Regions from separate parts of the Homo sapiens genome. Here regions 2, 3, 4, 5, 6 and 7 are each linked to region 1. Evidence: promoter capture Hi-C in 16 types of primary human blood cells and fetal thymus (Javierre and others, 2016). All regions are on one chromosome and are shown on one strand. The core of a region is centred on a gene start or on the middle of the fragment in contact, and the rest is flanking DNA. Distances in the headings are between cores, read along the strand shown.

Region 1 (4,003 bases), core at 952-3,451:
AGTCTTGTTAATTTCAACCAGCAGAAACATAATTTTGCGAAAACAGCCTCTTCAGTTTTACTTTTAATATACATTTGAGAACCACACGAAAATCCTTTCTGAGAGGAAAAAAAACTATTAAAAACCAACTTTTTTTCTAAACTCTCGTCCTAACGTTTCGTAGCTATTTCCGTGGTTCTCTGGCTAAAAGTATATTTTTTCGTAAAGTCGAGAATTATAGTTTAGCGTTCAACATTCAAACCCCCCAGGCCCGCTTCCTTCCAGCCAATCAGGGGGTAACAAGTCCAGAGTTTAGGGAGCTCCGTTAGACACAATTTGAAAAACATCACATTGCACTCTTCTATTCTCCTCCGGGAAACATTCTAAGCGAGGGCGGGTCCCCCAGTCTTCATAGAATATAAGAAATAAATCAATCGTTACATCAATTCCACGGGGAAAAACTCTGTAGGCAGGCAGTCCTAAAGAAGCGTGTCACCGCGGTTCCCAGGAAGCGTTATTCCTCTTTGCGAACAACTGAACAGAATAGCTGCTGCAGAAAGCATCTCCGGAATATTTGCAACCCAGAGCCGTGCGCCCCACACGCAATACACCGGCAAAGGGTTAATCTAGTGGTGCCTCCAGCGCGGAAAAGAACTCAAGATCTAATACATCCTTAACGCGGGATTTTTACAAAGGCCATAGAAGTATTACCTAAAGTTAATGCCGTCACTGGCTCACATCACTCAAGAGCTGTGGAGTAAGAATTGATAGAAACCACCAGCTAAGGGGGAAAAAAAAAATCACCGAAGGGAAAGACAAATAACAACTCTCGTCCCTCCTCCTCAGCGTCAAGAAAAGGTGGGGATCGCAAAATTACCGTTAAGTTGTCCGGGTAAAGACTTTTGGGGGAGGAAAACATTAATAGTTTCACAGATTGCTTTTTTCCTTGCGACATGTTTCAAACACCGGAGAAGAAAAAAGTCTTCTAAGAAAGTGCGACTCGGAGGAAATAGCCACGAGAAGGAAATCGTTAGCTCGAAGCCCCATCTTTCATCTCACCCGTGAACACTCCTCCCCTTTGAGAAAGGACAACGCTGCGAGAGCAAATGACAAAAATCCCCAGAAAGAAGCTAAAGTCCAGCATCTTTCCTAAGAGCCCGCTACAACCTCAAAAGCCTGCCCCTGCCCCATCTTGGAAGCGCGAGCCGCGGCCAGTCCTACCTACCTAGAGACCTCACCGGGACCCAGCGCGCCGGGGGAGGGCAGCCAGGGCTTGGGAAACTCTTTCCTGGGGCACCTCACGCTTCAGCGTCAAAAGACAATATAGATAGATGGGTGCCGGGCGGTGGCGGGGGGGACTGTTGCCACGACCCACCGGAGGGACCCATGACTCCGGGTCCTGAATTTTCTGTCGACCTTAAGTTTCTTGTCACGAGATGACGGCCATCACCGGGTCGAGAAAACGGCGAGAAAAGGCGGCCCGGTTCGGAAATGGGGGAGGGGCGCGCGTCCAGTCCTCCTGTCAAGGAGCGGCCGCCTGCAGAGACCCCGCAGTGCGCCGTCCCCGGCTCCGGTCCCGGGCGGGGGGTCTTGCTGACAGATCCGCTGGGCGGCGGCTGCTCCGCCGCAGCCGGTCCGCGTCCCGCTCAAACTGCAGCTCCCCTCCCCCCACAGCCCCGTCTCTCCGCGCTCCCGCCACATTCCGCCCGCCGCCGCCCACTCGCAGACGCCCAAGTTGCCCCTAACCCTACTTCCTCGGATTTTTCGCGATTAAGTGAGAGTAGACCCCGCGCCCACTCCCTGCACCCACCACTGCCTGCGGGTCCCACCACTGCCACCTCCCGAGTCCCGCTCTGCTACTTCTTCAGGCTCTTACCGACTGCGCCAGCCTTGGCGAAGCTCCGCCGACTGCCCTTTGCTCCAAGTAATTTTTGGCGATTTTTAAAGTAATTTTTCCGGCGGAGTCATAGTGGCGCTATACTCTCGGACAGGTTATCCTGTCTCTCCCGCTAGATTGATGAGATCAGGCATCACTCGAAAATGGCGCCGAAAGCGCTGAGGCTCCTCATTCAAATTCGTTAGAGCCAACCCCGCCGCCCCAGGGAATGCCGGGAACGCGGGCTGCCTCCACAGCTGTCAATACCGCCTCTTAACCCCCCTTCTCTTGCTTTCCCGACATTTTTACGCATGCGCAAACTCCAACCCTCCCCCCTCCTCCCGCCAGGCACATGCGCAGAATCATCGTGGTGCACGGCTCTCCCTTTGCTTCTTCGGTTGCAGTCCTCTTGCTTCTTGCGCGTGCGTGTAGCGCTTTTGCAAAGCCGCGGAGGTGAAGTGAACTTAGAGGTTGTGGGGCCGAGGGGTCGTCTTATAGCTACCAGCCCACAGGCATTTAGTCTACGTTGGAGGTAAACAAATACGGGTCCTGCTTAGGAGAAAAGAAAAACGTCTTACAGCCAGTGTCTAAACTCCAAACAACGGAATGTATCAATGAGACCTTGTATATGGATACACGTGCATTTAAAACCGCCCTGCCGGCTTGTAGAGCTTTTGCCGTTCTCCAGCGCTTTACAGGGGTTATCGCACTTAAGCCTCGGAACAACTTTACCAGGTAGGAACTATTACTGTTCTCGTTTTGAAGACCAGGAAACCTAGGCTCAGAGACGTTAAGTAATTTGCCCAAGACAGCACAGGTGGCACAGAAGTGGATGAATCCACATCTGTCAGATTCAGCAGCCCTGGAGTTCTCTACCACGCTGTACGATTCAACCTGAGCCCACACAGGAGGCGTGGTCTCCTTCTTCAACGGTGTGTGTGTGTGTGCGCGCGCGCCTGCCTAGAGTTAATGATTAAGTTTGCTGAAGCCCTTCTTCCCGGTCCTAAGCTGCCTGTTGCGAAGGCGCTTTCATTGAATTCAGTTTCTCTTACCGTCTTAACTTGTTCATAAACTTTTTGAGATAGGAATGGGCAGTTTTTCTGTGTCACTTAGGATGATTTTTTTTTTTAATGGCGTGATAAGTGAACTGAATCCAGCAAAGACGAGTTTCTGTTGTGCAACACGTTGGTATACTGACAGCTACCACGTATTGACTGTGTACTGTGTGCTGGGCACTGTGCTAAATAAATGATTTACGAATTAATCGTGTTTATTGCTCACAACAGCCTTATGAAGTAGGTATTATCTTCACTTTACAGATGAGGACACCTGAGGTTCAGATTAAGAAATCTGCCCCAAAGTCTTAGAACTGGTAAGTAGAAGCACCATATCTAGGCAAACCTGTCTACCTTCAAAAAAAATGGGCACTCTGATAGGACAATTAACGATAATAAAGTTGTAATTTTTTTTTTTTTTTGAGACGGAGCCTCGCTCTGTCGCCAGGCTGGAGTGCAGTGGCGCGATCTCGGCTCACTGCAGCCTCCGCCTCCCGGGTTCAAGCAATTCTCCTGCCTCAGCCTCCCGAGTAGCTGGGACTACAGGCAAGTGCCACCACGCCCAGCTAATTTTTGTACTTTTAATAGAGACGGGGTTTCACCATGTTGGCCAGAAGGGTCTCGATCTCTTGACCTCGCGATCCGCCCGCCTCGGCCTCCCAAAGTGTTGGGATTACAGGCGTGAGCCACCGCGTGGAGCCCTATAAAGTTGTAAATATTTTAAAACCTTCATTGTGAATGTTAAATAAGAGAGTAGATATGAAAGTGCCTGAAGTACTAATAAGGAAGTGGGAGAAGGGTAGCATGGTTTGCATTATTTAAGTGTCTTGGAAAAGAAATGGATTTTAGCAATTTGAGATCAGCAAGAAGTAACGTGGCAGAGTAGTATAAATACACTACTTAATCTCTGGTACTTTTTTGCACTACTTAAGTGGGTCGACTCTGGAACCGAGCTGCCTGGGTGAATCCCAGCTCCACTACTTACTAGCTGTGCCTTGTTGGGTAAATTATCTGTTGGACCTTTTGTAAAACAAGTACTATTAATACCTCATTGGACTGTTGTAAGGATGTAAATGAGCTAACATATTAAAGG
Region 2 (3,091 bases), core at 1-2,500, 1.0 Mb after region 1:
AGCTTAAAAGGGAATTGGGCTGGGTCTGTTAGGACTAGAACATCTTGTGATGCTGTATGGTTGGCTAGATAATGGCTTCCCAAAGATGTTTCCATCCTAATCCCCAGAACCTGTGAATGTCATTTTATATGGCAAAAGATATTTTGCAGATTTGATTAAATTAAGGATTTGGAGATGGAGAGATTGCTCAGGTGAGAGTGATGTAATCACAAAGATCCTTATAAATGGGCCGGGCACGTAGGCTCACACCTGTAATCCCAGCACTTTGGGAGGCCAAGGTGGGCAGATCACCTGAGGTCAGGAGTTCGAGACCAGCCTGACCAACATGGGGAAACCCCGTCTCTACTAAAAATACAAAATTAGCCAGGCATGGTGGCACATGCCTGTAATCCCAGCTACTCAGGAGGCTGAGGCAAGAGAATCACTTGAACCCAGGAGGCAGAGGCTGCGGTGAGCCAAGATCGTGCCCATTGCACTCCAGCCTGGGCAACAAGAGCAAAACTCTGTCTCAAAAAAAAAAAAAAAAATCCTTATAAATGGGAAGCAGGAGCACAGACTGAGCAGGTGGAGACATGATGATGGAATCAATAGGTTGGAGTGATGCAAGGATGGGGTCACCAGCCAAGGAATGCAGGAAGCCCCTGAAAGCTGAAAAAAGCAAGGAAATGGATTCTCCTCTAAAGCTTCCAGAAGGAACACAGCCCTGCCAACATCTTGACCTAACCTGGTGAAACTGATTTTGGTTCTTCTGACTTCCAGACTGTAAAAGCATAAATATATATTGTTTTAAGCCTTTAAGTCTGTGGTAATTTATTACAGCAGCAACAGGAAACTCATTCTCTCTGCAAAGGCGAACAGTGGTGAGAGGAACACAGTGTCCTGTTAGAGACACTTTGGGCTCTGTGTCTGAGAATGGGCACCAGGAAGGTCGGTCTTGGCAGCAATGCTCTCAGTTGCATGGCACATGGCTGGGTACACACGATTCAAATCAAACTAGCAGCTCCATGCATCTTGCCCCATGAAGCAGAAGACAGTCTGTAGCGGGAGCTAGAAACCAGGTGCTAAAAAACAAGCCAGATGCCACGGATGCACATCCTCTCTTTTTGACATTCTGTCTAGGGATAGGTAGATTTTCATGTATCAAAACTGAGAATCCTGGGAAAGCCAGAGATCTAACATAGCCTCAGTGATCAGCTTGATTCCATTGAATAACTGGCCAATCCAAGGAAGAAAAGAATCTGTCAACTCAACTGGGTTTTCTGAATTGACTTTTATTGTTTCAGATTTCATTTATCTCAAACCCCACCAGACACCATCTCAAGATTCCCCAGGCAGAGCACAGATCCTTGGGTTTATCACCAACTTCAAACACCTAAAAATGATCCCCAAAGACAAGACAACCTTCTGTTTCCCAATCATGGAATTTTTCAGGCTGTGTATAGTCTCATGAAAGACAAAAAACATACAAAACAAAGCAAAATAAGACGGCACAGCTTCATGTGCCATAAGCAATAAATGCTTTTTAAAAAATCAGGACTCCAAACATCCTCGCAGTCATGTTTATTTTTTCTTATCTTTAAAAACAAAATGTACACAGTATCTTCACCACATAATTTCAGGGTGGATCTATGATAAACTGTAGTTTGATAAGAGGCAGAGTAAAGACACCTTTATCCTGAGTTTATCCCCAACAATGAACTTTTATAGATGAGGCTTCAAACAAGGCCACATTTAGGGAAAATAAAAGATCTGTGGTGATAAATGGCAGTGCTTTAATGCAGTTTATAAAACAAATCTCCTAAACATTTACTTTCCAGTCAAGCTTCTGGCTATAGCTGGGTTAGTACAAGCAACAAAATGAAAGAAACTTTCCAAACATTGACATTGGCACTCGAAAAATAATAAAGAGAGGTATTAAAACATTTCTAGTATGGTTTCATTCTGAAAACATGTTGAGATAAAATTTCTAAGAATGCAATATAATTACTAGCTGTTTTTTATTTGTAAGAGTTACATATTCTTAGATTCATATGATCAGGTTCACATAAACAAAAGGTTCTTCCTAAAAAATGGAACAATAAGAATATCATCCCACAGGCATGGCAGAAAGGAAGCCTCTGTTCAGTTCTTAGCCTGACCTTAGCCTAGAACATCCTTGGCTTAATTCAAATGATTGTGGTTTTCTTTGTTTTGTTTTGTTTTCTGTTTTTTGTCTCTCTCCCTTCCTTCTGCCCAAAGACCCTTATACATGCACAGACTGGTTTACAAGAAAATGCCAAAAAAAGAAGTGAGAATAGATAAATTTCAGTATATTCTCCAAACCAGTGGTTCTCAAGCTTGAATGGGTACAACTATTGCAAAAATGTAAAAAGTATTTAGAAATACAAAGAATATATTTTAAATGTAATTCTGATTCAGATAGTTCCTAAAATACAGAAATCCTTTCTATACCAAAAGAACGTAATGATTCTGATTGTTCTCTTAACTGGGGAAAGGGAAAGGTGTGGCCTGTCATAAACTGGTTCCATGGATATTTAAAAAGATTTTTCTGGGTAAGAATTAGAAGAAAAAGAAAAGAATCACCCCATCTCCCTTCTTCTCTTGTCAATTGCCTATGTGAAGGGGAGCTGAGTTTTGGGGCCTGAGGAAACAGTGTGGCCCCCAGGCAGGCTCGTGACATACCCCTTCCCTCACCCCATTGCCAGGGCATTAGCCTCATCTTAGCTTAATGCAGCAGGAGTTTCTGGAAAACTCTGAAAAGAGAGCAAAAGGAGCTGCTTTCTCAACTGCATTCTGCACACAAGACGGCAACCTCAGTGCAGATCCAGCATGTCTCTGAGCCTCATAGAAAGAGGAGCTACCTCTTTGAAGCTTTGGCCCAGAAATCTACAGGTGAGTTCATTTCTGGTACTGAGCACATTGCTAGCAGCCACCTGGACAGACACGTGGAGAATGAGGACCAGGCCAGGTGAGGTCAGGGGAGTGAGCCCAGACACTCCACTCAAGACCTTCCATTCCTTCAGCTCTTGAAGACCAGCCAGGCTGTAAGTCCCTGGTCATCAGCCCACGCAGAGAAACTCAAGCTCTGAGA
Region 3 (4,003 bases), core at 623-3,122, 900 kb after region 1:
TGCTAGAGTCTAAAGCTGGCAGTGGAAATTCCAAGATAAGTTGTTCTTAGAACCATAAGGGCTGGCTAACAGGCCAGTGGGGACACAGCCTAGAGGGCCAGCAGCTATCTGGGGGCCCTAGGGTTGGACAGGCCCAGGCAAGGTGAGGGCAAAGTCAGGTGACTTCATTTACCCAGGTGCAAAGAAAGGCGTCAGCCTTCAAAGGCTTTCCATTGTTAACAAGCAGACCAGAGGCAACTAATCACTGAATGGAAACTGATAATTTTGCTGCTCATTTATTTTCCCAGTTAATGCTTTTCTTTTTTTTTTTTTTTTTTTTTTTTGAGACGGAGTCTCGCTCTGTCGCCCAGGTCGGACTGCGGACTGCAGTGGCGCAATCTCGGCTCACTGCAAGCTCCGCTTCCCGGGTTCACGCCATTCTCCTGCCTCAGCCTCCCGAGTAGCTGGGACTACAGGCGCCCGCCACCGCGCCCGGCTAATTTTTTGTATTTTTAGTAGAGACGGGGTTTCACCTTGTTAGCCAGGATGGTCTCGATCTCCTGACCTCATGATCCACCCGCCTCGGCCTCCCAAAGTGCTGGGATTACAGGCGTGAGCCACCGCGCCCGGCCCCCAGTTAATGCTTTTCAACACAACCCTTTATATTTCCGAAGAATAAAGACTTGTAAAAGAGATGGGGGAGTTATGGCTGCAGAAAACTGGCCCTTACTTTGCTCTGCTGACAGTTTTATAAGGCCAAGGAAGTTCAAAAAGTAAAAAGACTTTCTAAGCAATTCCACAGAAATTCTAAGCATTTTCAGGAAACCCATTTTTAACTTTAAAAAAATATTAATACAAGATTAGTTGCAGTGATTTAATTAGTAAACCATGACAGATGGTTAACATGCAGCATTTTTTTTTTAATGTGAACAAAATCACCAGTTTTTTTTTCAGTTTGTTTTTTCTTATTAATCTTGGGTAAAGATTCCTTGGGTCTTCAAAGATAACTACTCAGTCTACTTTTTAAATGGATAGTTTGTCTGAATAATTTTGTTAAAGCTTTAGTAAATGAATGTTGGGAGTGTAATTTCCAGAGTACAGGCTGAATGCAATGACCCCTAACACAGCCCAGATCTGGTCACCATGGACTGATGGCAGAGAGGATCCAGATATTTTGGTTGGATTCATGATTAGAGACTAAATCAGTATGATGCCTATGAAAAGGTCTGGTTTTTAAATATTTGCCATGGAGCTAGAGTAGAAGGCAGGGTGACAGAGGCAGCGGTGGCTGGAGTGTAACCAGCCCATGAATCTCAGGCAGGACAGGCTTGCATGCTTCTGTATATTTCTCTAGGAGAGAACACTGGGCTTCAAGGCTAGTCTGTTCTGTCTTCAGGCTCTAGGAATCTTCTTGTCAAACCCCTTCATTGGAAAAATGGGGCCTAGAAAGATTAGATGACTTTCCCAAGTGATAAGCTAAGAAAATACCCCGAATGCTTTAAATCCACCTTGAGGCTTCAATGTCTATGTGCTCTATAAAGTGAATCCCATATTGTTTTTCTTTAAAAGATTTTCAGAAATAGCTGCCTTTTACCCTTTACTCACACTAAAGTTTTGAAATACTAATGTTTCTGATTTGAAGATGGAGGTGGGAAGTTCATCCTCTATCCCCACCTCCCACCCCCAATCTCTTCTTTGAAATCATCCAAAGCAAAAGGAAAATAAGAAATGGAAACCAAAAAATCAATTTTCAGCAAAACTAGGAGGTATTTTAAACTATGAACAACAAATAGATGGAAGGACTGCAAAAAGCAGGGGAGCTTCCAGGAGAAAGAGGAAGGAAGAGTTCATGGCTGTGGAAATGAGACTGAGTCAGCAAAAATACATTTGTAAACAGAGAGGGCAGAGGTGAGGAATAAAGTCTAAGTCACATGTTTATGACAGAAGGAACCAGTATACACACCAGAACAGCAAGAACTCTCCAAGACCCAATTTAGTTGTGAAATGAAGAGGTGATGGAGTTAAAAAAAAAAAAATCACACATCCACATCACATTTGCAGGAACTATCTATCTCAGTGGCAGAGGGAAAGAAGAGAGACGTTGCTTTTTAAAAATCCCCATAGCTACCTGTCTTTATTGATCAGGGAGAAATAGAACTAAAACTTGCATGCAAAACCCTGGTTTATAAAGAAAATTCCTACTAGGCTGGGATGAGGCCCTGTAAATATTTGGCCCAAGGAAAACTCTTGTGCCTCAAAGATGAGAAACCAAAAAGAACAAACCCAAGTTATTTCAAAGATATGAAACATAAAACAAGAAAAAAAAAGACCAGAAAAAGTAAATGGCAGATAAAGTGTTGCCAAAGAGCAGATAAAAATAGTAAAAAGCATTTTACTACAAACATAAAATACTTAAACAATTACCTCTATGAAGTTTGGGCACAAAGTAGAGAGGGAAGAATCATGGAAGTCACAGAAAGACAAGTGATGTTGTTTGAGCTGGCGCACTACAGGGTAGGCATGGGGGAAAATGTAAACCATCAAAGAAACAAAGATGTGTTTGAAGGAAGATAGACAATAATAATAGCACAAGAGCTCAGAGGTTAAAAATAAGAAAACCAAGCAAAATGAAATTGATTTGGGTACAGGAAAGATTTATTAAACAGGACAAAAAGGTGAGCAAAATACTGATTTTTTAAAACCTGGTGATTGTAGAGTTCAAAAAAACAAGCTTACTTGTAAATATTAATGCAAAAATATTAAATAAAATATTACCAAATAGACTCAAACAATTCATTAAAAGAATAATACAATGTGACAAATTGGGGTTTATTCATAATATAAAGATGGTTCAATATTAAGAAGTCTTACCATATTAGTTATCTAAGAAAGAAATAAGGTATTATTAATCTCCTTAGATACTTAAAAGATACTTGGTAGCACTTCTTCTTGTCGCCATGTGAAGAAGGATGTGTTTGCTTCCCCTTCCATCATGATTGTAAGTTTCCTGAGGCCTCCCTAGCCCTGTGGAACTGTGAGTCAATTAAACCCCTTCCTATATTAAAAAAAAAAAAAAGATACCTAGTAAAATTCAACTGCCATTATTGATCTCAAAATAATTCAGTGAAATAGGAATAGATGTGTACTTCCCTAATTTATACAAAATAAAAGTCAACATTATGTTTAGTGGAGAAATATCAGTAGTGTTACCATTAAAGTCAGGAGTATGATAAGAATGTTTTAAACAAATAAGAGAGAGAAAATAGACATATACAAATTGAAAAGAAGTAAAATTATCATTACTTGCAGATCTTATATTTGCATAACCCAAGAGAATCATCTGAAAAAGATTATAAAAATTATAATTCAGTAAGGTAGCTTAATGTAAAATCAATATATAAATATCAAAAGCTTTTATACATTTAAGCAACTGCCGGATAGATGTCATGGAAGAAAAGACCCTTTTACACTTTCAAGAACATCAAAAAAGCTAAAATAACCAGAAATAAATCTAAGAAATATTCCATATGTATATCAGGAAACTTTAATCCTGAAAGACAACAAAGCACAGAGAAGGAATTAGAGGGGCTTCTCGCTTAGACCAGGTGACCAGGCAATGTGGCATTAGGAAGGCATATTGACTTCATCAATAAGATTTAGGACTTCTACTTATTCTGTAAGAACGCTTACAGACTTCATCTGTAGAGGGAATTTTCTCTTAGTTAACATTTATTGCAGAGTTACATGTGCAAAGCACTATATGCTTTGCCAGTGCCATGTCACTCATCATTGTAACAACTTTTTGAAGTAGGCACTATGATAGTTTCCCTCCCACAGAAAGGACTTCCAGGGTCCAAAGGCAAGAAATGGTTTGCACGAGCCAAGGAGCTGCAGAATCAGGCTGAAAAGCCATCACACTATTCTTTGGAAAACTCAGAAAAGAATGAAGAAGATAAATAAAGTCACCCATAATTCTTGTTCCTAAATATGACCACTCTTAATATTTTAATCTAAATCAGCAGCT
Region 4 (4,003 bases), core at 459-2,958, 850 kb after region 1:
TTGATCATGGAAGACTATAGATTTAAGGTAGAAATCTAAAGACAGTAAGACTTGGGAAAAATCTGTGCATTATTCTTACTATTTGAAGGAAAAAGAACATTTAAATTGAGATAGTTCATGGCACTAGTTAACCTAAGAGAAAGTATGGCAAGCTATCACGTGTTCTTAAATGATTGAGAAGATTTTACCCTTAAAACCCAAGAAAGCTGCATTTGCAGAAATTGATCAGATGCAGTTTTTGTGTCTTCAGGAGGAGTTGTCAGTACACGAGAGGTAGAGCGAGCTAGAAGTGGGTCATGGGCAAGGCCATACATCTGGTACAGTCTGGTGTCCCCAAATCAGGGGGCTAATACCTTAATTTAGACAAACTTCACCTCTACTTGCTACTAGTACAGTTACGAAAAACTAGACCTAATTCCAAAGAATGATGTTGTGAATCCATATGGTCTGCACTTCTGGCCCACTGGCAACCAGGCCATATAAACTTCTGTGGCTGAGCCTGATTTAGCCTGTCTGCAGCTTCCCATGACTTCTCCCTCTGGCTGTCTTTTCTTTTATTCTGGTCTAAATTTGGAAGCATTGTGAGGCAGCTTTGACAGGGGTAGATTCACTTTTGTATTTTCTTTTTGTGGCGGGTGCTTCTTTCATCATCCCTAGAGTGATGATGGGGAGGCAGATGTATGTCTGGGCCTGGTCTGGGCTTGTTCCAATGTGACAGTCAGGACTCTTGCTCTGTGACCACAGCTGGTTCTTCAAATTGAATGGGTTGGACCATCCCCAGGCAGTCTCCACCATCTTTGCAAGCTTCTGTGGCTTCCAGTGCTTTTGTAGATTGATTTTCTTCCCCATTTCATTTGGGGACTGTACACCCAAGGTAGATGGTGTGCTGTGTGGGACTCCAGTGCTCACAGGAGCTTCCTGAAGGGAGCTGGGGTCCGTCCTAGAGCCTGTCCCATTGTAGGGATTCCTTAGATGGAATAGGTGGCTTCTGCACTAAGTTTAAAGGCCCAGCCATGAGTTAATGTGTCTTTTTCTCTTTTTTTCTGAATGTCTTTGTTGAATGAAATGCTTGCTTTCCAACTAACTGTTTTTTCAGGGGAAGTTTCAGCCCCTTGATCAAGTTGTGGTGGATAACGTGTTTCCAAATTGCATCTTGTTGCTGAAACTTCCTGGACTTGAGAAGTTACTTCATCATGTGACAGAGGAAAAAGGTATGGTATAACTTAAAGGCTTATGGCTGGTAGAAAGGATGGACCTTGCCTAAGAACGTGGCTGCTTACAGACACACTGAATGTAAGGCTTATTCTGTGTCCACCATAGGGAAAACTATCATTCAGATTTGCTAACACTGCCAGCACTGTTCCTCTATTGCTTTGGAGTGTTTAGTCTTTGGAACTACAACCATGGCAGTCTAGGGCCTACGTCCACAGGGCAGGAATCACAAGGTGTGGCTTCAGTCTCACTTCTTCTTTGAACTAGTTCTGTGACATCAGGCAAGTCACTCAGCTGCCTTCTGCCTCAGATGTCTCATTGTAAAATTACGTAAAACCTGTACCTTAATAGATGGAAGCATTTATCGAGCACCTTCCAAAAAGCATATGTTGCACATTAGTGCTAAGCTCTAGATACTTATGAATAAGACATTGTCCTTTTCTTCACTTTGCGCCCAGTCTGATGGGGGTCAATGACAAGCTGAGCAGTGACCGCACAGTGTAACGGAAGTGAACTCTGAATTTACTGGGGATGCACAGGACAGGTTTCTAATCTGGCGGGGTTGGGTGGGGAATGTAGGTGGGTAGATGTTGTGTTGCTTTCCTGGGGGAAATGACCTCTTTATGGAGTCCTGAAGGATAGTCAGAGAAGCAGTGTAACAGAGGCTCAGATGTATGGAAAAGTTTGTCAGGTTCAGGAAGTTCCAAGGAGTTCAAAGTATAGGATTCTGGGGAAGGATGTAGGTTGGTAAGGAATGAGGCGGGAATGCTGGGCATGGGTCCAGATGGTAAAGGGCCCTGTGTGTGTTTGGACTTTGCTTAATGGTAGTGGAGTGTCTGTGAAGTTTTAAGCATGGCAGTCTGCAGTGTGGAGAGTATATTGGAGAAGCCAGGTCCACCAAGGCTGTTGCAGTGATCCAGACAGGAGATAATGGTGGCCTTGATCTTAGGAGATAGAACAAGAAGAAAGTAGCCATTTAGAGATGGACCCAACTGCATCTGGTTGTTGGGTGGTGGTCAAGGAGAAGGAGGAGTCAAGAGTGACTTCTCGGTTTGTGCCTGACCCAAAGGATGTGTAGTGGTGGGATCCTGGACACAGGGAACATGGGCTGGAGGAGCAGGATAGGGTAATGAAGAGATGCGTTTTCACTATCATTCATTTAATTTTTCAGAGGGAAAAGTAAGGCAGTGTGTGTGAATGTGTTTTGACAGGTTAGAAATAGTATAAAAACTTGGCTTTGGTGTCTTAAAAAATCATCCAAGTAGTTTCAGGGTTAATATGGAAACAAAGTGTGGGAACCAGAGCATCAGGCTGATAAGTTGTGGCTGTTTGGGTCATAGATGGTTTGGCCAACTATGACAGTTCTTCTGGGACCAAGAAAGTGGTGATTCCAAGAAGTGTAAGCTTACAGTGGGAAAGAGAAGAACCTTATTGATTGCATTTTATGTTTAAGGGGTCCAGTAAATTCATACTTGGCCACACTTGGAGCTCCAGTTTGGAACTGAGGGGTATATGGTGCCAGGGTTTTATCAAAGCAGTTCCATTAAAGACATTCCCTGATGCTGAGTTTGGCAGAAGACAGCAGTCTTTTTGTGGGTGACCTGAATTAGCCCATAACCACTTTTAAAAGATAAAGTAATGAAGAATAATTTAATTAAGCCATGTTAATTTTTGTCAACTTAATGCAAGCTGAAAATGCAGTTAACTCATTGTCCAGAATTCTGCTATTAGCTGTATAAGAACAATCATCTTAAAACCCAGAAATCCAGATTTAGAAACAATGTTAGTGCCTCAGCATTTGTTTCCTTACAGTCTGCAGCCGAGAGCAAGAGGCTCTCTCTGTGTCATCCCTTCCCTCTTGTACACCGAACTCCTGACCATTTATTGCATCATTATCTGAACTTGTCTTAGTCTCCTTTGCTTCTCAATATTGCCTAACTTTTGGAAGTTCTGTACTTCCATTTTCAAAGTAGCTATATTATTAGCCTTTATATTTGCCAGATTTCAAAAACCCTAGGCCTCAATTTTTTTCTTTATTTTTAAGTGATGGGCAAAACATAAAATACTTTAGAATAAATTTCACACAGTAAAAGATGTATTCAATCTCTAGAGGTTTGGCAGTTTCTTTTTATCAAATTCTTCCCTTAATAAGCTGCAGCCTGTGAATCTCAAAATAATGGAAGTTTTAAAAACAGAAAGAAAAAGATTTTTATTTTTATTTTTTTATTTTTATTTTTTTAAGACAAGGTCTTGCTCTGTTGCCCAGGATGGAATGCAGTGGCACAATCACGGCTCACTGCAGCCTCAATCTCTGGGGCTCAAGCAATCTTCCTACCTCAGCCTCCTGAGTAGCTAAGACCACAGGCACAAGCCACCACACCTGGCTAATTTTTTCATTTTTTTTGGAGAGATGAGGGGGTCTCTCTATGTTACCCAAGCTGGTCTTGAACTCCTGGGCTCAAGGGAACCTCCCGCCTCAGCCTCCTAAAGTGCCGAGATTATAGGTGTGAGTCACCATGCCCATTCTCAAAAAGATTTTTAAATGGGGGGAAAAATACGTAAGATTCTCAAATGCCTCATCCTTAAGAAGATATTGGAAAATCAAATATCTAAAAATTAAATATATAAAACCTAAGCGGGCTTTATTGCAAGAATTCATAATTGGTTGAGCATTTACCATAATTTACCATATTTATGCATTACAAAATTGTATGATTATCTCAAAAGACACAGAAAAGGTATTTGATAAAATTCAGTCATGATATATATTATCAGCAAATGAAGAATAAAA
Region 5 (4,003 bases), core at 716-3,215, 820 kb after region 1:
TGAAACTAATGCTGCCCTACCTTTGAAATCCAGTTATGTAGATAAATGTTCTTATTGCATACACAAGCTTGAGTCAGGTATTTTGATTCCTCGTAGGTGAAACTACTTAATTAATTTAAGTGGTCTTATGAGTAATTTGTACTCCAATGTCTCTGAAATTTTCCTAGAATTTAACTACTAATCCCAGGGACTGGGCCAGAAGAAGCTCTAAGTAGTAAACAATATAACTCAATGTTGTCCTCTTTTTCCAGTGCTAGAGCACTGTGGTTGACCCAAGGGTGTGAGCTTCTTTTAGTGGGTTATTCTCCCAAGATAATTCTATCATTATGCAACTAGACTTTTCCTACCCACCTGAAAAATAGGCCCTGTTATACCCTACGATGTCAAGCTAGGCTCATGCTGGAACTCCCAAAACATGAACAAATGTAGTTTTATAAAGTTTGAGCTGAAAAAATGTTGTGTTTTTTTTTTTTTCTTTTAGTTTATTCAGCTTAATCCCCTCTTTTTAGGTAAACCTACAATGGGGAAATGACTTGACTAAGAAAGCAATAGACTAGACCTAGAGATAGGACAGAGCCCAAGGCTTCAGTTCTGTGCTCGACCTGCTGTCCTGGTACACTGAGGCTGAAAACTCATTTCCAGCACCCCTTCTCAATGGCACATGAACATTATATAAACACTGTATAGTTAAGTCGTCTGAATTTTTCATTTTTGCCATATTAGCTGTTATTACTGTTATTGGTGTTTTCTGAGAAATAACTAGCTCACAGTGCTTAGATGCAGTGAAAATCTAAAGGACAAACCATTTGGAAAAGAGTTTAAAGCTCCAAGTTAAGGTTCAGCATCAGTTGTCCTACTGATGTTGAGGTTATCTGATTATACTTAGGCTTCTTAAGCATGTTCTAAAATAATCAAGTAATCAGTTAACAAAACACCCTATATTTTAATATAAAAAAGCACAAATAGCAAGATGAACTTTTATTTTATAAAGAATCCATATTAAATGCTTAATTATGAACGTTGCTGCTAAAGAAGTCTTTGAAATGTCATTTTCAATATATCCTTGACCTACTTAAGAACAGACACTTGTTTCTTTTCTCCATCCTCAAATTTAGAAATCTCTGGCTGATTTTTAAAGCATTTTGTAGATCACATCAAGTTAAAAAGCTTCTGCACAGCAAAGAAAACAATCAACAGAATGAAGAGAAAACCCACAGAAATATTTGCAAACTACCCAACTGACAAGGAATTCATAACCAGGAAATGTAAGGCGCTCAAACAACTTTACAGGAAAAAAATCTAATAACCCAATTTAAAAATAGACAAAAGATCTGAATAGACATTTCTCCAAAGAAGACATGCAAATGGCAAACAGGTGTATGAAAAGGTGCTCAACATCATGATCATTAGAGACATGCAAATCAAAACTACAATGAAATATCATTTCACCCCAGTTAAAGTGGCTTTTATCCAAAACACAGGCAATAACAAATGCTGGCGAGGATGTGCAGAAAAGAGAACACTTACACACTGTTGGTGGGAATGTAAATTAGTACAACCACTGTGGAGAACAGCTTGGAGGTTCCTAAAAAAAGCTGTAAATAAAGCTGCCATATGATCCAGCAATCTCACTGCTGAGTATAGACCCAAAAGAAAGGAAACCAGTATATCAAAGAGATATCTGCACTCCCATATTTATTGCAACACAATTCACAATAGCCAGGATTTGGAAGCAACCTAAGTGTCCATAGACAGATGAATAGATAAAGAAAACGTGGTACATGCACACAATGGAGCATTATTCAACCATAAAAAAGAATGAGATCCTGTCATTTGCAACAACATGGATGGAACCAGAGGTCATTATGTTAAGTGAAATAAGCCAGACACAGAAAGACCAACTTTGCATGTTCTCACTTATTTGTGGGAGCTAAAAATTAAAATCATTGAACTCATGGAGATAGAGAGTAGAAGGATGGCTACTAGAGGCTGTGAAGAGTAGTGGTGGAGGTGGCAGGGAGTGGTGATGGTTAATGGGTACAAAAAAAATGGTTGGAAAGAATGAATAAAACCTAGTATTTTGACAGCACAACAGCATGACTATAGTCAATAATGATTTTATTGTACATTTAAAAACAACTGAAAGAGGATGATTGGATTGTTTGTAGCACAAAGGATAAATGCTTGAGGTGATAGATACTCCATTTACTTTGATGTGATTATTACACATTGCATGCCTGTATCAAAATACCCCATAAATATATACACTTATGTACCCACGAAAATTAAAAATTTAAAAATAAATAAATAAAAAGCAATCCGTGACCACCAATTATTCAGCTATTTCACTTCATCACCTCCTGTATTCTCTGAAACATCTGCACTATAGCCAGAAACTTCCATTTAACAACATGCTATGGTATTCGGGAGTATTCCTCCCTCAGGTTTCAGCCTATGTTTACCCTATACCTGAAATGCCCTCTCAACCAACTCTTCCATGACAGTTCAAGTTCCATTCATCCTATGGGGCTCTTTATAAATGCCTTCTCATTCATGATGAGTCCAGCCCATACTGATTGTCCTTACCTTTTCTTGCTTTCACAACTGTGCTACCGATTGTTGTGTTATGGTTTTTTTTTAATATTTCATGTGTGGATTTTTTCAAATTTGATTGTAAGCTGTTAAAGAATAAGCAATGATGTTTTTCTTTCTTACATGCATTCTACAGAGCATCTTGCACATATGGAAGTTGAAAGCTCCTCTACAAGCTTACTGATTGATGGATAGAAATAACTAGAGTACAAGTGAAGTGGTGCCCTCTTTGCCTTCCTCCCCTCTCCAGGGCCTTCACTGCCACTGTCCTGTTAGAGTACCATTAACTTCCAATGTTAGAACAGGCTCTTGATGGCTGAGGACCAAGTTTTGTTTGTTTGTTTTTGTTCTCTTCCACTGCGTTCTTTCTGCCTTGCTGTAGATTCTGAGTAGATCAGTTAAGATCTTCACGCCTATAGAAATGGCAGACAGAATCTCAAATTTTAAAGGACAACTAGGATGTTGATAATCTCTTCTGGTTCCAAGTAGGGTAGAGCATAAGCTGTTTCAGCAAAGTTCTTGTTCTCAAAATCCCCAGGCAATCTTAGGTGTCTTGCAGAGATATGAAGTTATTTCTAATATCTAATCTAAATCTCTGTCTGCCACTCAAGTCTCTTCCCTTTATCACAACCCTAAGTGAAAACAGGAACTAGGGCTTTCTTTGCTGAAAACCGTGTCCACACCATATAGCTATTTTTAAAAAGATGTATTCCCAGCTTATCTTCTTTACAAGTTAAGGACATGGTGTTGTGTTTTATATCTGGTCTCTGTTTGAAAATAAATGGCCATCTAGAGTACAGGCTATAAGGAAGTAAGCTCTTCTTCAAACATACAGAAAGTAGAGACAAATTTTGTCACATTTGCTTTAAATATTTTATTTTAAAATTTGAACTATTATAGATGTAGGTGAATGATGCCTTTGTACCACTGCCTGTTTTCCCTTCCAAAGAGTGATGACTATTCAGGGACATTTTTTTTCCTGGCAAGTTTAAAAATAATATATATGTATATTCACAGAAATATATATAACGAACATATCTCATATACACATATATATCATATACATGTTTATGTCATGGGATATCTACATAAATTCCATATACAATATGCACCATTTTTAAGTGTTCATATTCTTTATGTAAATCATACCACAGTATATGTATCACTCTGGAACTTTCTTATACTTAAGACTTAGTATGTTCTTAAGATTTCACTTATGCATCTACAGTAATGTGTTACTTAACAACAGGGACACATTCTGAGAAATGCATCATTAGGCGATTTTACCATTGTGTGATTACCACAGAGTGTACTTACACACACCCAAATAGTGTAGCCTACTACATACCTAGGCTGTATGGTGTAGCCTATTGCATCTAGGCTACAAACCTGTATAGCACGTTACTATACT
Region 6 (4,003 bases), core at 994-3,493, 800 kb after region 1:
ATATATGAGATTCATTTTTAGTTAATTGTTGCATATGAAGGAAGGTATAGATCAAAGTTGGGGTTTTTTTGTATACAGATATGTAAATGTTCCAGCACCATTGTTGCAAAACTATCCTTTCTCTACTGAATTGCCTTGGCACTGTCAAAAATTTGTTGTCCATATATGTGAAAGTCTATTACTGGACTGTCTTCTGGACCTAATGTCTGTGTCATTATCTCTTTGTGTATCTTCGTGCCAATATCAAACTGTCTTGATTATTGAAGCCTTGCACTTTGAAATCAGGTCGTCTTAGCCCTCCAACTTTGTTCTTCTTTTTCAAAATGAATTTGCCTATTTTAGGTGCTTTTCATTCCTGTGAACTTTAGAGTTAGCTTGTCATTTCCTACAAAAACAAACAAACAAAAAAAGCCTGTTGGGATTTTGATTTGGACTGCGATGAATCTATCAATTTGGAGACAACCGATGTCTTAATAATATTAAATCTTTCACCCATGAACATGGTATTAGTAACTATTTATCTATCATCTATCTATAAACATTGTTAAAACAATCAAACACTGCTGATACATATACACGTTTTGTTGTATGCTGACCATTTCATGTAGAAACAACGATAGTGACTGAAGCAAATAATACTGATGCCTATAAAATGGCAAAGCCCTGGTTCTGTCAGTCCCCTGTGATTGGAGACAGGGCCCATCTGATCTCTGTGTAGTTGGGCTGGGTCTGAGCTTTGTCACAGCTTATTGTGATTCAGTTCATGGCTGGTTTTAATATCTGAAAAGTAGAATCAGTACTTTTCTCTCAGTGTATCTTGGAATCCTAGAGACAGTAAGACTCTGGAAAGTTCTCCAAGCTTCACACAGCCCAGCCCCCAACTTTCCAAACTGTGGGAGTTCTCTTTATGCCTTACAGCCCAGCCACCAACTTCTTGGGTTGCTGGGGCCTTTTCTTTGCCTAAACTCTGCCTCCACATCTCAGAGCCTTAAGATAGCTCTTCCTCCAGCATTCAATAGGTGGCTACAATGTACTCAGTAGAGACCTTGTGTAGGGAGGGTGGAGGTAGGGGTGAGGTGGGTGGGTAGGGTTGAGGGGATTGGAGAGTTGAAAGGGTTTTCGGGAGCATCTATTTCTCTCAGTTCTCCTGCTTTGCCTCTGGCTACTGCAGGCTGCTGCCTTGCATTTGGTGAAAGCCTCGTGCTTTCTAGGAGGGGATTTCTTTCAGCTTTCCTGCCTTACCCCCAGTGTGTAATGGGGACTGCCTTGCAATGGATGAACCTCACATGCCTTGGAGAATCCCTCTTGCTTCTCCTGCCTTGCTTCCTGTGCTCAGTGGGCTACTTTCTTGTACTTTGGGAAGACCTGGTGTACCTGGGGAGGGTATTTCTCAGTTCTCCTACCCTGGCACCAGCTTTCAGTGTACGACTCCCATCCACTCAATGGAGGCTGGGTGGGTACAGACTAGTTCTATTCCTGGGGTACCTTGTGATTCTACTCTGTTATGCCAACCCATATACAATCATCCAAAATTTGTTTAAAGATAGGCTGGTTTCTCCCTTCCTCTTCTGTGCTCCTTCCAACATGTCCCTAGGAACAAAAGCAGCTGTGGGACTCTTCTCTCTAGGAAGAGCTTGATCCTTTTGGAAATGTAGTTAATTTGAGGGATTTTTTTCTTTTTTTTTTTTTTTTTTTTGGCTCCTGGGTTCTCTGATGAGTGTGAAACATGCAAATGAAAGCAACAACAAATAAAACTGTCATTTGTAGTGCTTCTGGTCTGTTCTCATGGTTAGAGTAAGAGTGATAGACTCCTGCAAATTTCTGCATCTTATAAAAGAGTGGAGGCTTGTCCCCTCATTGGGTTTTGTACATTGTCTTTGGGCTGTAGGTTGTACCTGTCACTAAGGTACCTTAAATAAACATACACACACATTTCGTTTTTTAAAAATGGCTAAGTCAAGCCTCTAAGTTCAACATCCAAACTCCATGTGAAGGAGTTTCAACTTTCTTTGGTTTTCAAAAATCCCCTCTAAGATCTTCCATATTTGTGATGGAATTTACATAAAACATTTATTCAAAAAAAAGTTATTGAATACCTAGTATGCACTAAGGGCTGTTTCAGGACCTGGAGATGCAAGATAACAGTGCCATGGAGCTAACGTTCTAGTGGACTTCTGGAAAAACTAAGGGATCGTGACTTAGCTGTGACTGCAAGTCACATATGCAAGTTCACCACAGTTGACCTTTTGAAACAGTCATTTCAGGAGTTAAATTATAAGGAAAATTCATTCCAGACCTCTGCTGAAATAAACAATGCTTCTAAATTCTATAGAGATGTGTAGCCAGTGGGGAGCTGTCTGACTACATCAGTTTACAGACTTCTTTCAGCAAAATCAGAGATCCACATGGAAAACCAAGTATTCAGGAGCCTCTATGTATATTACAGCATGCCCTGGGGCCTCAAGCAGTCTCCTTTATGTGTAATTTTTTCATCTGTGACAGATTTAATGTGGATAATAATGCTTACTTAATAAGCAATCCAGTATAATTTAACAGAAGTTACTAATGTAAGTTCAAATGAGTTTTCATTTACAATTTTAAGAACACCATGTGTATGACAGGAAAACAGTGGGTGAAGAGCTGATCTAAAAAGCAAAAATGGTAACATCCTGAATTATGCCATAGAATCCATTTATTTTGATTAACCAGCTGAGACTATGAAAGGTGGAAAATGCATTTCATGGTAGATATACTTTAGGTATAATACTAAGAACTTAAACCAAAGGATTGTACCATTCACCTGACATATCATAAGACATGAAATCATGTTTACTTACATACTTTTAGTTTATCCATTAAAAAAAGAGTCAGCAAACTTTCTCTAAAGGTCCAGGTTGTAAATAGTTTAGGCTTTGCAGACTATAGTTTCTGTTGCAACTACTCTATTGTAGCATGAAAGCAGTCAGAGACAATAAGTAAATAAATGGGCAAGGCTGTGTTCCAATAAAACTTTATTTACAAAATCAGGCAGTAAACCAGATTTGGCCTGTGCACTGTAGTTTATCAACCCCTAGACCATCCTGGCTAACATGGTGAAACCCCATCTCTACTAAAAATACAAAAATTAGCCAGGTGTGGTGGTGGGCACCCATAGTCCCAGCTACTCGGGAGGCTGAGGCAGAAGAATCACTTGAACCCGGGAGGCAGAGGTTGCAGTGAGCCGAGATCACACCACTGCACTCCAGCCTGGCGACAGAGTGAGACTCTGTCTCAAAAAGTAACTAACTAACTAACTAAATAATAATAATAAAAATAAAATGTCATATTGGCATTGTAATTACACTCTCCAGAAGAAATTACAGGTTATGTACAAAATGTATTGCTCCATGACTGGCTACAGGCAGAATGGGTGGCTGTCTGTGTGTTATGACTCTATTAAAATATTACTGTATTATGGAAGTATTTCTAGACCTGTATGATGGAATTTTTTAGTGTGTATGATATCAATACATAATAACCCTGTGCCTGAGGGTGATTAGGGAGATAGATTCTCAATAGACTCTGATGTAGTAGGTTTCTTCTGAATGGGGAAGAATTGATTAGATTAAGATCACTTTAAAGCTGTAGTCAAGCTTGTCCAACCCATGGCCTGCAGGCTGCATGCAGCCCAGGATGGCTTTGGATGTGGCCCAACACAAATTCATAAACTTTCTTAAAACATGAGATTTTTTTGCGATTTTTTTTTTTTAGCTCATCAGCTATCAGTAGTGTTAGTGTATTTTATATGTGGTGCAAGAAAATTATTCTTCTTCCAGTGTAGCCCAGGGAAGCTGAAAGATTGGACACCCCTGATGTAGATGCTTTCAACACCATTCATTCATTCAACCAGCACAGATGTTGTTCACATCATGTTGGGAACTGGGGGTATAAAGAGAAATAGAAAATAGTGTATTTCCCCAGTGGCTCACAGTCTAGTGACAGAAAATGATGAAAACAAATAATT
Region 7 (4,003 bases), core at 623-3,122, 770 kb after region 1:
AATTGCTTGAACCTGGGAGGTGGAGGTTGCGGTGAGCCGAGATCACATCACTGCACTCCAGCCTGGGACACGGAGTGAGACTCAGTCTCAAAAAGAAAAAAAAAAAGTGGTACATATACACAACAGGATATTATTCAGCCATAAAAAAGAATAAAATCCTGTTATTTGTAACAACATAGGTGGAGCTGGAGGACATTTCTTAAGCAAAATAAGCTAGAAAGACAAATAAGAATTAAGGCAAGAAAGACAATTATTGTGTGTTCTCACTCACGTGGAAGCTAAAAATGTTGCTCTAATGTAGGTGCAGAGTAGAATGATAGAGACCAGAGACTGGGAAGAGTGTGTTGGGGGAAGGGGATAAAAACAGGTTGGTTAATGGGTACAAAACTACAGTTATTACAGAAGGGATAAGATCTAGTAATTAGTAGCACAATAGAGCAAATATAGTTAACAATAATGTATTGTGTACTAGAGAAGTAGATTTGGTATGTTTCCAATACAAAGAAATGTTAAATATTTGAGGTGATGAATATCCCAGCTATACTGATTTGACCATTATACATTGCATGCTTGTATCAAAATGTCACATATACCCCATTAATGTGTACAATTATTGTGTATTCATAAAAGTTAAAAATAAACTTTTTTTCAAAGAATATACTATTAGATATATTGACAAGCATTAAATGGGGAAGACATTTTGAAATAAGACACAATAGCCAGATGTCAAGATGTCATAAAGAAAAAACTGGGTAAATTTTATTACATAAAATATTAAAACCTTAATTTGATAAAAGACACTATAAATAACATTTTAAAACCAGTGGAAGGCTGAGAAAACATATTTGCAATGTAAAAAACAAAGAATTAATAAATTAATATACAAAGAGCAACCACAAATTTTTTAATGGCATAGACTTTGATTGAATATAGGTGAAGGGTAATAGAGAAAATTCAAGGTCTGACAAACATATGAAAAGATCATCAACCTCATGAGTAATCAGGAAAATGCAAATGAGATCACCATTGTTGATATGATCCCCCCACCCCCAACCCCTCACTGGCAGAAGTAAAAGTTTGTTAATACACAGTTCACCAACAATGCAGGGTAATGGCTAGCGTCATATGCTAGCCATGTGGGGGACAATACAGATGTAGCCTCTTTGAAGGGTGTTTGTCCTACAGAAATATTCACATGTGTACACAGTTGTATGTACAGTATGTGTAATTTAAGAAAAGGGAAAATGTAAATAACTGAAATCTCTGACCATAAGGGATGGAACAGAGTGCATGCTGGGGACTTGATGGAATAGAAGAGCGCTGGGACCTCAGAGGGCCTTCTATAAGGACATAGACTTTTTTCTTAACTCTTTATTTTGAGAAAACATTGTAAGAATACAGCAAAGGACTCCCATATACTCTTTAGAAGCTGATCAGTTGTTAGCATTTTGCCACGTTTGCTTCATTTCTCCATCAATCTCTTTCAGCAAACATTTTTTAAAACATATTTGAGAGTTAGTTGCATACATCATGACCCTTAATCTCCAAATACTTTTTATCAATCTCCTAAATACAAGGGCATACTCTTATATAATAATGGTATGATTATCAAACTCAGGAAATTGAACGTTGACAAGCTACTACCGTCTAATACATTCAAATTTCACTAAATGCCCCAACAATGCCCTTCATAGGACCCCTCTCTCCTTTCGTTCTGATCCAGGATTGCATTTAATTGTCATGTGTCTTTTGTTTCCCTGTTTCCTTTAAGCTAGAACCATTCCTCAGCCTTTGTCTTTCATAACATTAATATTTTTTAATAGTACAGGTAAGTTTTTTTGTAGGCTTTCCCTCAATTCCTGCTTGTATAAAAATTCCCTCACAATTAAATTCATTTGCATTTTTGGCAATAATGTTACATAAATACTGTGACCTCAGTGCATACTTTAGGAGACCCCAGATGTCATTCTATTAATATCTCGTTGGTGGTGGTGTAAACTTTTGATCACTCATTTAAAATGGTTTCCCCTGCATAGGTACATTTGCTGCTTTGCAACTAATAAATCATTTATGAGGGATATTTTGAGACTGTGTGAATATTCAGTTTCCCCAGTAAACTTTGATTCTGTGGTTCCAAGGACTTTGGATTTTAAATGAGTGGAAGCCACTGGAGGGTAATAGTGTGATTCTGATGTTTTAAAGAAATTACACATGAGTCTGGCAGGATCTAAACCAAATGACTAACAGTGGATTTCTACATTGTTTAGATATTTTATCAAAAAAAAGTACATCCTTGAATTGTCTGTGTAATTTTTAAAAGGCATTTTAAACACACACACACACACACACACACACACACACACACACACAAGGTCTGGAATCAGATAGACACAGATGCAGCCCCACAACCCTTATTACTATGTAAATGGAGTGATTTTCTTAAACTCTCTGAAATTCAAGTTCCTTATCTGTAAACTGGGGATAATATTAATATTTATGAATTAAATAAGAAAATATTTTTTAATGTAGCCCATAAAGCATCACTAAATCCTTTTTTATTTTAAGTTTATTCATCTCATAAGTTTCCAAATGCACTCTTTACACTGGCTTCTTTTCATTAAATACGCTGGTTATTTTTTGCTGCTTAAAAATCCCATCTTCTGTCAATCCAGCTTACTTCCATCCTCCATTCAGAAGCAAACTCCTTGGAAGGCCTCCCTGTTTGCCCTGTTTTTACTTCCTCACTTCTAATTCCATTCCAGCCCTCCTCCACTCCCAGAGCAGAGCCTTTCCTAAGAGCCAGTCAACATTTTTATAACTTCAGTGACCCTTTGTCAGTCTCTTAACCATTTCTTGAAAAAGCATTTCTTTTCTCGTGGCTTCTGCTATCTTTGTCTATTTTTTTTTCTCCCAGTTCTCTGGCTGGTCCTTCCTTGTCAGATCCTTTTTCTCTTTGGCCCTTAAATGTCAGTTTTCCTCTGCCTTTGAGTGTGGGGTTAAGCAAAGATTGTATCTAGAACATTTCCATGGTGTTTCAGAAAGACTGCCTGATATGATTTGGATCTGTGTCCCCACCCAAATCTCATGTTCGATTGTAAACCCCAATGTTAGAGGTGGGGCCTGGTGGGAGGTGACTGGAACATGGGGATGGTTTCCCATACTTTAACACCATCCCCCTTGGTGCTGTCATTGTGATAGTGAGTTCTCATGAGATCTGGTTGTTTGAAAGTGTATGGCACCTCCCCTGTCTCTTCCTCCTGCTCCGGCCTTGTGAAGTGCTGTGTACCCCTTTGCCTTCTGCCATGAGTAAAAGCTCCTTGAGGCTCCCAAGAAGCAGATGCTGATGCTGTGCTTCCTGTACAGCCTGCAGAACTGTGAGCCAATTAAACCTCTTTTCTTTATAGATTACCCAGTAATCTATCTCAGGTATTTCTGTATAGGGGTGCAAGAACAGACTAATACACTGCTATTAACATTATCCATGTTGTACCTCAACATTCATTATACAGAGGTTCATCCACACTGCAAATTTCTGATGGAGCTTAGAGCTTTAAAACTTTGCCTCTCCTGACCAACTACTATGAAGTCATGTTGTCCATCACTTTCCCTCTCTGCTTTTGCTGTCAAACATTCAAAATAATGTTTTCTGCTAAAATCAGAGGGCTTTCTCATGCTAGGATTTCTAGGATAGTCATCTTCTCAATCTCTCCAACCACTTTACATTCTTACATGTTTTATATATTTTCTCTTTGTTTTCAATCTTGTTGAAATGTCTTTCTCAGTAAAAGATCCACTTATTCTATTATTAGCATCTATGGAAAGGTTTTGAAAGTAGAGGGAGTAGTTGTATACCATGTTTAGACTTAAGAGGTGTTTTTTTCCCCTTATAATAAATAAATTTCCATATAGGTTTTGATAAATATGCAAAATTTTATTGAAAGAGATGTAACAGATATAATATCCAAATACTGTATATAGCATTTCTTCAGTTCCTTTTTCTAAT

The links. Contacts are between HindIII fragments. The CHiCAGO score rates a contact against its expected background, and 5 or more counts as called.
Region 2: a fragment that was not itself captured here is called in contact with the fragment with the promoter of DLEU1 in region 1 in 1 of 17 cell types (fetal thymus); the score reaches 6.6 in fetal thymus.
Region 3: a fragment that was not itself captured here is called in contact with the fragment with the promoter of DLEU1 in region 1 in 1 of 17 cell types (monocytes); the score reaches 5.9 in monocytes.
Region 4: a fragment that was not itself captured here is called in contact with the fragment with the promoter of DLEU1 in region 1 in 3 of 17 cell types (fetal thymus, monocytes and non-activated CD4 T cells); the score reaches 7.4 in fetal thymus.
Region 5: a fragment that was not itself captured here is called in contact with the fragment with the promoter of DLEU1 in region 1 in 9 of 17 cell types (non-activated CD4 T cells, naive CD8 T cells, total CD8 T cells and 6 more); the score reaches 11.5 in non-activated CD4 T cells.
Region 6: a contact is called between a fragment that was not itself captured here and the fragment with the promoter of DLEU1 in region 1, in 1 of 17 cell types (naive B cells). The highest score is 5.4, in naive B cells.
Region 7: a contact is called between a fragment that was not itself captured here and the fragment with the promoter of DLEU1 in region 1, in 1 of 17 cell types (fetal thymus). The highest score is 6.2, in fetal thymus.

What each region holds. Positions count from the first base shown.
Region 1 is chr13:50,079,968-50,083,970 of GRCh38, forward strand. DLEU1 (deleted in lymphocytic leukemia 1) reads left to right here and starts at 2,202. Exons shown (of 7, transcript NR_109974.1): 1 at 2,202-2,590; 2 at 3,175-3,227. The region is part of intron 1 of DLEU2 (deleted in lymphocytic leukemia 2); the gene reads right to left. RefSeq lists enhancers at 654-713, 2,331-3,126 and silencers at 1,346-1,640, 1,504-1,723, 2,124-2,173. The HindIII fragment of the contact is 5,734 bases long and covers 1-4,003 here.
Region 2 is chr13:51,080,868-51,083,958 of GRCh38, forward strand. It overlaps C13orf42 (chromosome 13 open reading frame 42), which reads right to left. Exons shown (of 4, transcript NM_001351589.3): 4 at 1,252-3,091. Among named protein-coding and RNA genes, the nearest start is that of C13orf42, 29 kb to the right of the region's middle. The HindIII fragment of the contact is 1,139 bases long and covers 682-1,820 here.
Region 3 is chr13:50,977,517-50,981,519 of GRCh38, forward strand. No RefSeq gene overlaps it. Among named protein-coding and RNA genes, the nearest start is that of RNASEH2B-AS1, 69 kb to the left of the region's middle. The HindIII fragment of the contact is 1,672 bases long and covers 1,037-2,708 here.
Region 4 is chr13:50,933,789-50,937,791 of GRCh38, forward strand. RNASEH2B (ribonuclease H2 subunit B) reads left to right here. Exons shown (of 11, transcript NM_024570.4): 5 at 1,097-1,211. Among named protein-coding and RNA genes, the nearest start is that of RNASEH2B-AS1, 25 kb to the left of the region's middle. The HindIII fragment of the contact is 1,812 bases long and covers 803-2,614 here.
Region 5 is chr13:50,895,299-50,899,301 of GRCh38, forward strand. The region is part of intron 1 of RNASEH2B-AS1 (RNASEH2B antisense RNA 1); the gene reads right to left. Among named protein-coding and RNA genes, the nearest start is that of RNASEH2B, 12 kb to the right of the region's middle. The HindIII fragment of the contact is 1,601 bases long and covers 1,166-2,766 here.
Region 6 is chr13:50,876,578-50,880,580 of GRCh38, forward strand. No RefSeq gene overlaps it. Among named protein-coding and RNA genes, the nearest start is that of RNASEH2B, 31 kb to the right of the region's middle. The HindIII fragment of the contact is 2,773 bases long and covers 858-3,630 here.
Region 7 is chr13:50,850,880-50,854,882 of GRCh38, forward strand. No RefSeq gene overlaps it. Among named protein-coding and RNA genes, the nearest start is that of DLEU7, 9.2 kb to the left of the region's middle. The HindIII fragment of the contact is 5,277 bases long and covers 1-4,003 here.